Linked DNA regions of Homo sapiens: region 2 is linked to region 1. The links are contacts of gene promoters, found by promoter capture Hi-C in human tissues and cell types (Jung and others, 2019). All regions are on one chromosome and are shown on one strand. Each heading gives the region's core, a stretch centred on a gene start or on the middle of the fragment in contact. The rest is flanking DNA. Distances are from core to core; before and after follow the strand shown. Region 1 holds the start of SNAI1 (snail family transcriptional repressor 1). Region 2 overlaps SLC9A8 (solute carrier family 9 member A8).

Region 1 (6,120 bases), core at 192-2,691:
TTTGTTCACGGCTGTCACACCCGGCACCAAGTGACTAAACAGACAGTAGTTCTGCCCTTCAGGTTGGTGGTGGTGGTGGTGTGGGGTGCTTATAGGTTTTTATAGTCTTCCTTCACAGGTGGAAACAAGAACGGTGAGACCTGTGAGGTTTATTTCAGAGCCACCCCCGGGCCTGGTACGCCTCCCAGGGAAGCTGGGGTGGGGGTGCAGCTGCCCCTCACTTGGGCCCACCCCACATGCATTCAGTCAGGGCCCCTATGGAGCCGTGTTACAGCCTTTAGACACAGGATCGAGGATCTTCACGGGGTGAGGAGACACGCCCGGCCCATGCCTTCTTTCTCCCGCCAGCCTACAGGGATCTTTTTCAACGAAACTCTAACCAGGTCCCTCCTCAGCTGAAAATCCTTCGGTGGCTCCCCAGTGCCCTTGAGGCAAAGTCCAAACTCCTACGAGGCCCTGGGGCCCAGCACATCTGACCCCTCCGGGCATGCCCATCCCACCCCATCCCTGGAAGCTGCTCTCTAGGAGTTACTCTGAAGCAGTTGCCACTTCTTCCCTCGGGCCTTTTCCCTTGATAATTCTTCACTTCCTCTGGGAAGTCACCCCGACCCCCTGTCAGGTGACCCGCCTCTTAACGGTCGCCGCGTCCCGTCTCTCCCCCACCAAAGCACACTTCCCTTTGCATTGTAATTATCTGTTTACTTCGTCTGTCTCCCTCACTGGACCAGAAGCTACCCTTCGGGAGAGGCTCTGAGTGTTCTGTCCGGGGCTGTGCCCTGGCCCCAGGTACAGTGCCCCACACGTGCTGGGCGCTCCGTAAACACTGGATAAGGGAAGGAACGGGTGCTCTTGGCTAGCTGGGCCAGGCTGCTTTGCAAAAAGGCCGTGGCATTTCAAGCCGCCGAGAGCCACGTGCGGTGTCCCTTTCCTCGCTTCCTCCCCAGTGATGTGCGTTTCCCTCGTCAATGCCACGCTCTCCAGGCGCCAGCCGGGCGGAGGAAATTTCCGCCCCCTCCCAAGCCCGAGGCGGGGGCGGGCGTCGGAAGGTCAGGTGTCCCGGCCGGCGCGCAGCGCCAGGGGGCGTCAGAAGCGCTCAGACCACCGGGCGCTGAGCCGGTGGGCGCGCGGCGTCCTGCCGGGGTCCCACCTCGCAGAGGCCTCGCTTCGCTCGACGTCCCGCCCCGGACAGCCCCAGCACCGGGGACGACCCGCGCTGCGCCAGCGAACCCCGCCTCGGAGGAGTCCCCGCCCGGGCTCTCACCGCCACGCGGCGCGAGCCCGGCCAGCAGCCGGCGCACCTGCTCGGGGAGTGGCCTTCGGCGGAGACGAGCCTCCGATTGGCGCGGAGGTGACAAAGGGGCGTGGCAGATAAGGCCCCGCCCCTCCCACCCCCCACCACCCCCCCGGAGTACTTAAGGGAGTTGGCGGCGCTGCTGCATTCATTGCGCCGCGGCACGGCCTAGCGAGTGGTTCTTCTGCGCTACTGCTGCGCGAATCGGCGACCCCAGTGCCTCGACCACTATGCCGCGCTCTTTCCTCGTCAGGAAGCCCTCCGACCCCAATCGGAAGCCTAACTACAGCGAGCTGCAGGACTCTAATCCAGGTGCGTTGGAGGGGTTCTGGGCTCCAGGAGGTTTGGGGGAGACAGGCGAAGGCTGCGTGGGGGGCACCTGAGGGAGGCGGCCTGCCTGAGCCAGGATCGAGTCACAGGATGTTTTGTGGACCATTGCGGGCTCGGGAGACCGGGCAAGTGGGTCCCCAGTTCCGGGGATCTGTCTGGGTGGTTGGGGGAGTGCCGTGTAGAGGGCAGGGGTCTTCAGCTTGGGGGGCCTTTGTAGCCGGCGAGAGGCGGAGGAGCTCCGCAAGAGGGGAAGGAGAGGAGGCCTGTGTCAGGAGGGCCCTCTGGACGCTGCTGGGGAGAGTCCGGAGTCCAGAGGGTTGAGGGGAGGGGTGGGGAGACGAGATGTGTGTGAGGAGGGGGATTGGGGCAGGGTGGTGGCTCCGGGGCTGGGATGATGGGGTTCTGGCCTCAGGCTGGAGACTGGGGACTTAGGAGAGGGAGATCAGGAAATGACCTCCTTCAACTGGGGGTCCTACGTGTGAGAGACTCAGATTGGGTGACCTGGGCGAGGAGGGCAGGAACCTGGTCTGTCCTGTGGATAATTTTTTTGATCTAATTATGTATTGAGAATCGGCCCCACCCAGCCCCTGGCCAGCGGTGGGCTCATGTTTGTTGATTGAGTGAATGATTTAATTAACGCCTGACTCTGCTTTTTCTCCCTCAGAGTTTACCTTCCAGCAGCCCTACGACCAGGCCCACCTGCTGGCAGCCATCCCACCTCCGGAGATCCTCAACCCCACCGCCTCGCTGCCAATGCTCATCTGGGACTCTGTCCTGGCGCCCCAAGCCCAGCCAATTGCCTGGGCCTCCCTTCGGCTCCAGGAGAGTCCCAGGGTGGCAGAGCTGACCTCCCTGTCAGATGAGGACAGTGGGAAAGGCTCCCAGCCCCCCAGCCCACCCTCACCGGCTCCTTCGTCCTTCTCCTCTACTTCAGTCTCTTCCTTGGAGGCCGAGGCCTATGCTGCCTTCCCAGGCTTGGGCCAAGTGCCCAAGCAGCTGGCCCAGCTCTCTGAGGCCAAGGATCTCCAGGCTCGAAAGGCCTTCAACTGCAAATACTGCAACAAGGAATACCTCAGCCTGGGTGCCCTCAAGATGCACATCCGAAGCCACACGCTGCCCTGCGTCTGCGGAACCTGCGGGAAGGCCTTCTCTAGGCCCTGGCTGCTACAAGGCCATGTCCGGACCCACACTGGTACGTGCCCCTCCAGGCGCCCCCACCGTTGCTCTCTCTGGCAGCTTTTGTGAATCTGGGCTTGCTGTTCTCATTCCCAAAGCTGTGGACACTGAGGCCCCGAGTCTTCTAACTTCTAGCTCAAGTTCCAGGGCCTGGCTCTCTGGAAACGTTTGGCAGAAACTTTCTTCATCAGCTAAGCAGATGGGCAAAGCAGACACCTTCCCAATCCCCTGCAGCCTGTTTCTCAGCCAAATGGGTCGGAGCTGGATATGGGAAAGGTGCAACCAACACCTTGCTGTGGGGGCCAGGTGTGAAGGGGCCCACCCGGCCACACCCTCTCCCGGGTCCGCCCCCTCCCTAGCCAGACAGGATGTTGTCAGACCCCCCGCCTGGCTCTGAATCCTTCTTTGAGAACTTTCTCAAAACTTAGGCTGATGTTTCTCTTCTGTGAGCCTCATTTTCTCTATCTTTCAGATGGGCATGAGAACAGCTTTTGGGGTTTCTATACAGGCTAAATGCAGGAATGCATATGGGAAGCACCTGGCAAAGTGCCGGTACCTGCTAAACTCTCACAAAAATGGTTCCTTGGCATTTGCTCTGCTTCCTTGCTGTGTGACTTTGGGCAAGCAACTTAACCTCTCTGAGCCTTAGGGGAAAACTATGATAGCATATGTTTTAGAGAGTGGCTGTAAAGGTGGCTAATCACTTTATAGTAATTTATTATACCCGAACGGTTCTCAGGTCGGCTTCCCCACCCCCACTGAATCCTAGCACACAGACCAGGAAACGGCATCTTTGGGGCAGAAAACACAATCACGTCTTTTGAAAATTTACTAAATGTGTAAAAAACTTTCTGGACATGGAGAAAAGGTAGAACTTTTTAGAACTTGAATGGTGGCAGCCACTGTGCCTGGAGCTGCTCTTTGGAGAGTGACAGTTGAGGGAGAAGATTCCACAGGGTTCAAGCTGGCCAGGTTCTGCCATTTCCTGGCCTGGCGCCTGACCTCTGAGCGGTGAGGGTTAGTGAGGTGTCTGGGAGGACTGGCAATTCGCGGGCTTTATTGGCATCTTATTCGACTAAGGCTACCCATTTCTCTTCCTTCGTGCACCAATTGCTCTGATTTTAACATGTAAAGGTCCAACTGCCTGGCCTCCTGGGTGCCTGCCCAGCTCACAGGGCTCTATTTTGGGACAGTTGAACCCCTCAGGGTGCTGCAGTCCTGCCTGCCTCTCTCACCTCCCATCTGGACATTATTTTAATGTAAAGGCATGGCTGAGACACAGAAATCCCCTTGAAATGTATCATTGCGGTCCTCATTGACTCCCATTGTGTGCCTTAATGGTGGGCCCAGTGGGTGGGGGCTGGGAGGGGTGGAGCAGGTGCATGGGGCAGCGGTGCCCAGCACCTGTTCCAGTCACAGCTGCTGGCCCACTGCATGGCAGGCCCCTTTAATCCGGGGATATCGCATGTACAGTGCCCCCCTCGGCGCCCTTTGTCCCCGCCGGCCTGGTGCCGATTTCACACTTGCCAGGAGTACCATGAAGGCGTCTGGGGGGCGAGGGATCCAAGGAGTGGGGGTCTGTGCCTCCTGCGTGTGCACACAGCCCCCGCCCCCAGCCCATCATGTCCTAGAATGTCTCCTTCCCCTTTTGTTTGGGTTCAGGTCTCATCACACTTTGGGCACTTACTGTACAGGAGGGTAGTGCTCAGGACTTCACCAACAGCCCTGGGAAGGGAAGGGAGGTGCTGTCCTAACTCTGGTCTTACAAATGGACTCCAGCCCCTTTTCCAGATCTCCAGAGTCAGCCCTTAGTTCACAAGGGTGAACTTACCCTTCTCATTCACATGAAGACTTAGAATGCAATCAACAAACCCTTCAGGCGTGGCGTGTGGAGGCTGCTGAGTAATGGCAGAGTGGAGTAGTGCTCAGGCACCCCTCCCCCAATCCTCTATGTCCCCCACCCTTTGGAGTGGCGAGTTTCCATTTCTGCCCCATGAGACTGAGTCCAGCTCTCAGGCGCTCCATAAGTCCCTATTGAATGCATGGGTCCCATTGGAGCCATCCTCTGGACTCTCTCCTACCCTGGTAGCTCAGTGTGGCACCCTAGGCACCCAGGAGGTGATGGAATGAATTCACTCTCAGCTCTTAAATTCCATCCAGCGCTGGGATTTCACAGGCGGGCCCTGACCTTGCGGGCATATCAGACTGGGCGTGAGGGGATTGGAGAATTGCATGTTTTTTAAAAAGACTATTCAGTATTATGGAATAGTGTCTAGCACTTAGTAGGAGCTCAGTAGATTAAAAAAAAAATTATAGACAGGGTCTTGCTTTATCGCCTAGGCTTGTCTCAAACTCCTGGCTTCAAGCAATCCTGCCTCACTCGGCCTCCCAGAGTGATGGGATTACAAGCGTGAGCCACCACACCCAGCCTCAATAGATTTTTGTTTAATGGGTTACTGTTATGACCTTTTATTTGGAAAATGCTGCATCCCCCAGAAAAAAACAAATCAACATTATTGGTGTTTTTGGAACTATATAGCTTTTTGGTTGGAGCAGGGATTGTTATGAGGCATGAGTGAGGGGGCAGACTCCTCTGAGGCCTCTTTAATTTTTAAAACAGACTTATTTATTCTCTAAGGGCTTGTTGAGGATTTACTGGGCACCCAGCTCCATGTGCAAGACTTTTCCCAACACAGCCTTGGCCAGGCAGATGGTGTGTCAGGGCCACAGGTTTCCGTAGCCTCTTGGGTGATAGAAAGGGGCCCAGGCCCTGGGCTGGGGCTCAGAAGGGACTCAAAGGAGGCCCTTGCCCTTATGGGACTCAGCCTGATTGGAGAACAGACAAGGAGATTTGGGATTACAGCGCAGGAGGTGGGGTGGTGAGGAAAGCAGGCTGCTGGCCGGGCCCCAGGAGTGGCCTAACCAGCTTGGAGGTGGGGGTGGGGAAGCCTCTTAAGGCTGACTCTGGCTTTGGCCCCCAACAGAGTAAATCAAGGAATGACTCCAGGACTGATGGTAAGGACACCAGTCACGTCCTCCCTTGACTGAAGGCAGTAAGGGCAGTAGGTGAAATCAGAGGCTTTGGGGTCCTGCCAGGGGAACCTGAACATGCTACTTCTGGGCCTCAGTTTCACTGTCTCTGAAATGAGACCACAGTAGGATCAAGTGACAGTAGGATGAATCAGTAAAGGTGTTGAGTCATTGTTGACCACTTCGCACGTCCCTGCGGGATGTGGATGAGTACCCTACCTTCTGTCACTTATCAACCCCTATGAGTGGGGGGTGAATAGCCCCATTTTACAGGTGGGAAAATGGAGGCTCAG
Region 2 (5,658 bases), core at 1,848-4,347, 130 kb before region 1:
AGGTAGTTATTTAAACATTATATGTTTCCACTAGGCCAGGCCCTGAGAGAATAATTATTTTGGCTCTTTATTGATTAATTTATTTCTTAATTACACAAATTCCATGCCCTTAAGATACTCATTTTCTATTTACAGGAAGAAGAAATGTTTCGTCCAAACATGTTTTTCCTCCTCCTGCTTCCCCCTATTATCTTTGAGTCTGGATATTCATTACACAAGGTGAGACTCAGGCACACATTGGTGCTTTGGTCTGGACAGTTTCTCATGTTTGTAAGGCAAGTTCCTTAAAAGCTTGGGTATAATTTAGCAGCAGCAGCAGCAGCAGCTCTGCTCCTTCCTGGTTGTGCTCAGTGGAAGCTGGACTGCAGTGCCTGACTTCTGGAGAGGAGCAGACATGATGAATTGGCTGCTTTAATGGTTTCAGGCAGTATGGCTCACTGAGCCAGTGTTTGCCATAAATGGGTGCTTTGCCCAGGAAGATGGCTGAAGTGATGTTAAGTGGCTCACAGATGATGCATTGACTCGTCTTCCTGGACACAGACTGATAGATGTAAAGAGGATAGACTGTGTCCTGGGACGACGGGGACATGTGCCCCAGGACTTTTGTTTCTTTCAGCTCCCCCACTGGGGCCTTTCTAACCTTCTCAGGCCCATCCATCCTTCCATGTCTCCCTCTCGGTGCCCTCCCCTGGCCTCAGACCCCAGCTTGATATTCCCCTTCATCCCTCAACCTCTATCGCTCCTCGCCCACTCCCTGGTCCAGCTTCTCCTTCCCAGGCTGGAGCCCCATCCTTCCCTGCCTAGTCCCACAGTTGCCTGCCCATTCTTTCCTCCCTGCCTTGGTGAGCAGTGGCACTGGCCCCTACCCACTTCTCTGCTTTGGCTTGGCCTTGACGGCCATTGCCTTGCAACTCCCAGTGTGAGATGTTTTTTTTTTTGTTTTGTTTTTTTTGAGATGGAGTCTCACTCTGTCACCCAGGCTGGAGTCCTGTGGCATGATCTCGGCTCACTGCAACCTCCACCTTGTGGGTTCAAGTGATTCTTCTGCCTCAGCCTCCTGAGTAGCTGGGATTACAGGCACACGCCACCTTGCCCGGCTAATTTTTGTCGTTTTAGTAGAGACGGACGGGGTTTTACCATGTTGGCCAGGCTGGTCTCGAACTCCTGACCTCAAGTGATCCACCCACCTTGGCTTCCCAAAGTGCTGGGGTTACAGGCATGAGCCACCACACTCGTCCCCTAGTGTGAGTCTTTCTGCCTGAGCAGGAGCTTCTCACTTTTAAGCCTGCTTGTGTGCGTGCATGGTTTTTTCCTTGTCTGTGAGTTTTCTTTAAACATAAATGTATTTAAGTTTTAAAATAAAGTGATTCAACTTAAAATACTAGTATTAATAATACAGCAGCTATTTTGTGAATGTGATTTTTAAAAAAACTGTGAAGATTGGAAAGTTTAGGCCAGTCCTTGGAGAGAGGAAAGCCAGAGACACAACACAGATCTAATCATGCGCTGCCCCCTACAGGTTTCTTTTTGGTAAAGTAGAAACCAAAAACCCCAAAACCCTACCTCCCAGGGTGCTTTGAGAGTCACACTAGATGAAAGAACGTAGGCAAAGCACCACCCACCACACTAAATAAATGAAGTGCTGCTGCTTGTTATTAATGATAAAAATGTCATTTATTATTAATAACAATATTACCACCAGTAGTAATAATAATTTATTAAGCTTAATATGGTCGGGCCCAGTGGCTCATGCCTATAATCCCAGCACTTTGAGAGGCCGAGGTGGGTGGATCACTTGAGGCCAGGAGTTCAAGACCAGTCTGGCCAACATGGTGAAACCCCATCTCTACTAAACATACAAAAATTAGCTGGTCGTGGTGGTGCGTGCCTGTAATCCCAGCTACTCTGGAGGCTGAAGCATGAGAATCATGAGAATAGCTTGAACTCGGGAGGTGGAGCTTGCAGTGAGCTGAGATCACGCCACTGCACTCCAGCCTGAGTGATAGAGGGAGACTTTGTCTCAAAAATAAATAAATAAAAATAAACTTAATTTGTTGTTGACATGGTATAAAATAAATAAATACATAATTTTAAAAAATGAGTTAGATTTGTCTAGAAATGTTTGGTAAAAACATAGAAATTAAGTCTTTAATTTTCCTGTACTAAAACAAAAGCATATTAAGATGTTCAGCCCAGATTTTTTTTTAAGTTATTATTTTATTGTGCATCTATCCAAAGAAAAAGTGAAAAGGAAATTTAATGTAAAAAATATTCACAAGTCTTACAAACTGTTAGTGACATCAGATAATTTTTAACAAGGAAACATAAGTTGAAGGTCACCATGTCTTTCCTTTCACTTTGTAAACAAATCTTAACTGTAAGCAGATATGAAAATATTTCAAAACATGCTGAGGAAATTGACTTGATTTTGACTTAAAAACATGACATTTTGAATATTAGAGCATGTAAAGTTTTTCTTTTCTTTTTTTTTTTTTTTTTTAGAGGGGAGAGAAACTTGTTCAAAATTTGAGGAAAGTAATAGTTTTTTAGAGAAACATTTTGTTGAAGATGACTTTCCAGCAGGAAATGTGACAATTTATATGAAAGGGACTGATAGGATTATGAAATGCTACTTCTGAAACTTCTATCCACTTTCTACCCTCGCCCAAAGATGATAGGAAGTAAAGTTTGAATATTTTATTTTAATATTATGATATCTGCTAATGTAAATTTGGATTTAGAATACAGATTACAGTAAGATTATCATCAGTTGATATGCATTAGCTAGGCAGCAACTGGTTCTTTGAATTGCAAATATTACACAAATCACAGGATGTTAATTATGTCAGAGAGAAACAGATAAATTTGCTTTATGTAGCAGAGGGAAGTTCTTGTATTATGGTAACTTTAACTTGGGTAAATGTTCAGGATCCAGATTAATATTAACCAAATATATAAATTATATCAACATTAGATCTCTGCAAACAGGTCAAAACTGATTAATCTGTTTTTTTTTTTTTTTTTTTGAGATGGAGTTTTGCTCTTGTTGCCCAGGCTGGAGTGCAATGGCACGAACTCGGCTCACTGCGAACTCGGCTCACTGCAACCTCGGCCCCCTGGGTTCAAGCGATTCTCCTGCCTCAGCCTCCCGAGTAGCTGGGATTACAGGCGTCTATAACCACACCAGCTAATTTTGTATTTTTAGCAGAGATGGGGTTTCTCCATGTTGGTCAGGTTGGTCTCGAACTCCTGACCTTAGATGATCCACCCGCCTTGGCCTCCCAAAGTGCTGGGATTACAGGTTTGAGCCACCGAGCCCAGTCTAATCTGTTTTTAAATAACAAAAGAAAACAGCGATTTGCAAAGAGCAACTCATAGATTGAAAGCCCTTTGTTTTGAAAAACCAAATCATTGTGTTTTAAAATTCTTTGTGCAGTAAAGATTGATATGCCAAACAAAGGAATTGAATGTCAGATGATAGGCAGCCAAGTCAAAATTGCAGCTTCTAGGAGGTGGGCTTAGTGGGGCAGTCAGTGTTCAGCTGAGGACACTCTTTCACAAGTGGGCTTTAAAATAGCAGGTCTTGATGTCCATGGTTTGGTGATTTCTGAGCTAAAAACAAGATTCTTGTTCACAACCACAATCGGGGGTGATCAAAGACTCTTGGTAGCTCCTAAGTGGAGTTCATAGGGTTATAATAAATAGCTTAATTTCCTTAATTTTATGGAAATTTGAAAGATGCTACCATGCTGCTTGAACTTGAATATTTTATCTTAAACGCTGTGAAGTATAGATAGAAACATTTTATCTGACATAGTTAATGATGATACTAATAGAGTGAAGTAAAATTGTTTAAAAGACCTGGCCAGGAAAAAGGAATATCTGATAGTGTATCTTGGTATCCTAATAGTGTGGACTTTGGATGTGAAACACAGTTAATTCCTTCAGTGCCTGTCTGTTGGGCATCTTCCATCTGACGGGCATTATGTCAGGGACCGTGTTGTGCGAAAGCAGGTGGGGTCATTGCCCAGAATGAGCCTGCAGCCTCATGGGAAAGTAAGACATCAGTACATAAATAAGTGCAAAATTGCAGTCTTGTCAACCGCTACAAGAGAGGGTGACTGTGCACTGAGAGCACAGACTAGGATCTGGGAAGAGTTGAAATGTCCTGAGATCTTGGGATGATGAAAGCTTAACAAGCAAAGAGGGAGCACAACCTGCTCGAAGCCACCAGTGGGACTGGAACCCAGAGAACAAAGGCGAGCATGGTGCCAGATGAGCCCAGAGGCCTCCCCAGGAGTCGAATCATTCAGGGTGGGGGCTAGCTGCATTTTAAGTGGAAATAGGGGTCCAGGTGAAGGCAGCACAATCAGATTTGTCTTTTGGGAAGATCATTCTGGAAAGACGGGAGAGTGGAGGGAAAGGGGCCCTGGGGGGTTGAGGAGACTTGTGCGAAGCTATGCAGTGTTTCAGATGAAAGATGGTGTGAGTGACGGGACACTGCAGTAAGTGCGGGGGTGCAGGAAGACTCCCGGGCTCCCAGCTTGCCACACAGGTTGGGCAGTGGTGCCTTTTACAGAGAATCAAGTCTGCACGGAGGGCCAGGTGTGCAGGCCGTGCCTTCACTGACAGGAATGGCTTTTCTAATCATTTCCCTGATTTCTGCTCTTTCAAACAGGGTAACTTCTTTCAAAATATTGGTTCCATCACCCTGTTTGCTGTTTTTGGGACGGCAATCTCCGCTTTTGTAGTAGGTGGAGGAATTTATTTTCTGGGTCAGGTAAGAAAATCATCTTTGAAACACTTTGAAAGTCTTACATTCTTAGAGCTAGTGCAGGGAGGTGGGAAGGTGAAATGGGGCCACTTTGTGGGGCCTGGGTTTCACCCTTAAGGTAAATTCCTTCTGGAAGGAAATCCTAGCTTCATATGAGGCACAGTAGAGGCGTGCTAAATTGTTTCAAAGTGTCCTCCAAGACCTTTGGTATCTGGAATTGAGTAAAACTTTTCCATAATCCCCCCCAAAGTATTTGAGTTTATTTGCAAACCAATACTGTCTTAAATTAGAATACCTAAAAATGAAGCCAAATATATGCCATCAAGAACTTCAAACTGTGTTGTCAAGTAGACTGAATTGGGGTTGAATGCTGTTTTTTGATAAAAATTTGTATTTAAAAAATCAAAGATGTGCTTTTCTGCTGGCATTGGAGAAATAATAAAATCAAAGGTGATGCTGAATCTCTTCACTCAATTCTAAGCTGTCTACCTGTAGAATTATATACTCTGGATTTTCCACAATTGCTAAACCACTTCCCAGTGGCACCAGTTGGGTGGTCTCTACTTTAGACTTCAAATTAATTTAGACCAAACATCCCTAGGAAGGTAGTATCTGTAGTTTTGTATTATGCATGTCCATGCATGTCACATTCTTTTCCTTTATTGTCAGTTGCAGAAAGTTTGCCTGTCTCAGTTCTGAAAATTAAGTTGAGGGTCAGGTATCTGAGTGACGGGCAGATTTCTTTAACACATCAGCTGCTTTCTTCTCTCAATAGCCAAAGCCCATTCCATTGGATTTTCACCTATATTGCAGCTTTGATGGCACCAGAATAAATCTGTCTGTCATGCAGCTTTCTTCATTGCTCAGCTTCTAGTATTAAGTAA

Evidence for each region. The method cuts DNA at HindIII sites, captures the fragments that hold promoters and counts their contacts. A contact is called where the count stands out against the background at its distance.
Region 2: a fragment that was not itself captured here is called in contact with the fragment with the promoter of SNAI1 in region 1 in 1 of the 25 tissues and cell types used here (neural progenitor cells).

The regions. Positions count from the first base shown.
Region 1 is chr20:49,981,539-49,987,658 of GRCh38, forward strand. SNAI1 (snail family transcriptional repressor 1) reads left to right here and starts at 1,442. Exons shown (of 3, transcript NM_005985.4): 1 at 1,442-1,603; 2 at 2,286-2,813. The coding sequence starts at 1,522. RefSeq lists an enhancer at 1-784 and a silencer at 937-1,456. The HindIII fragment of the contact is 23,979 bases long and covers 1-6,120 here.
Region 2 is chr20:49,844,901-49,850,558 of GRCh38, forward strand. SLC9A8 (solute carrier family 9 member A8) reads left to right here. Exons shown (of 16, transcript NM_015266.3): 5 at 136-219; 6 at 4,679-4,780. Among named protein-coding and RNA genes, the nearest start is that of MIR12122, 16 kb to the right of the region's middle. The HindIII fragment of the contact is 4,181 bases long and covers 1,008-5,188 here.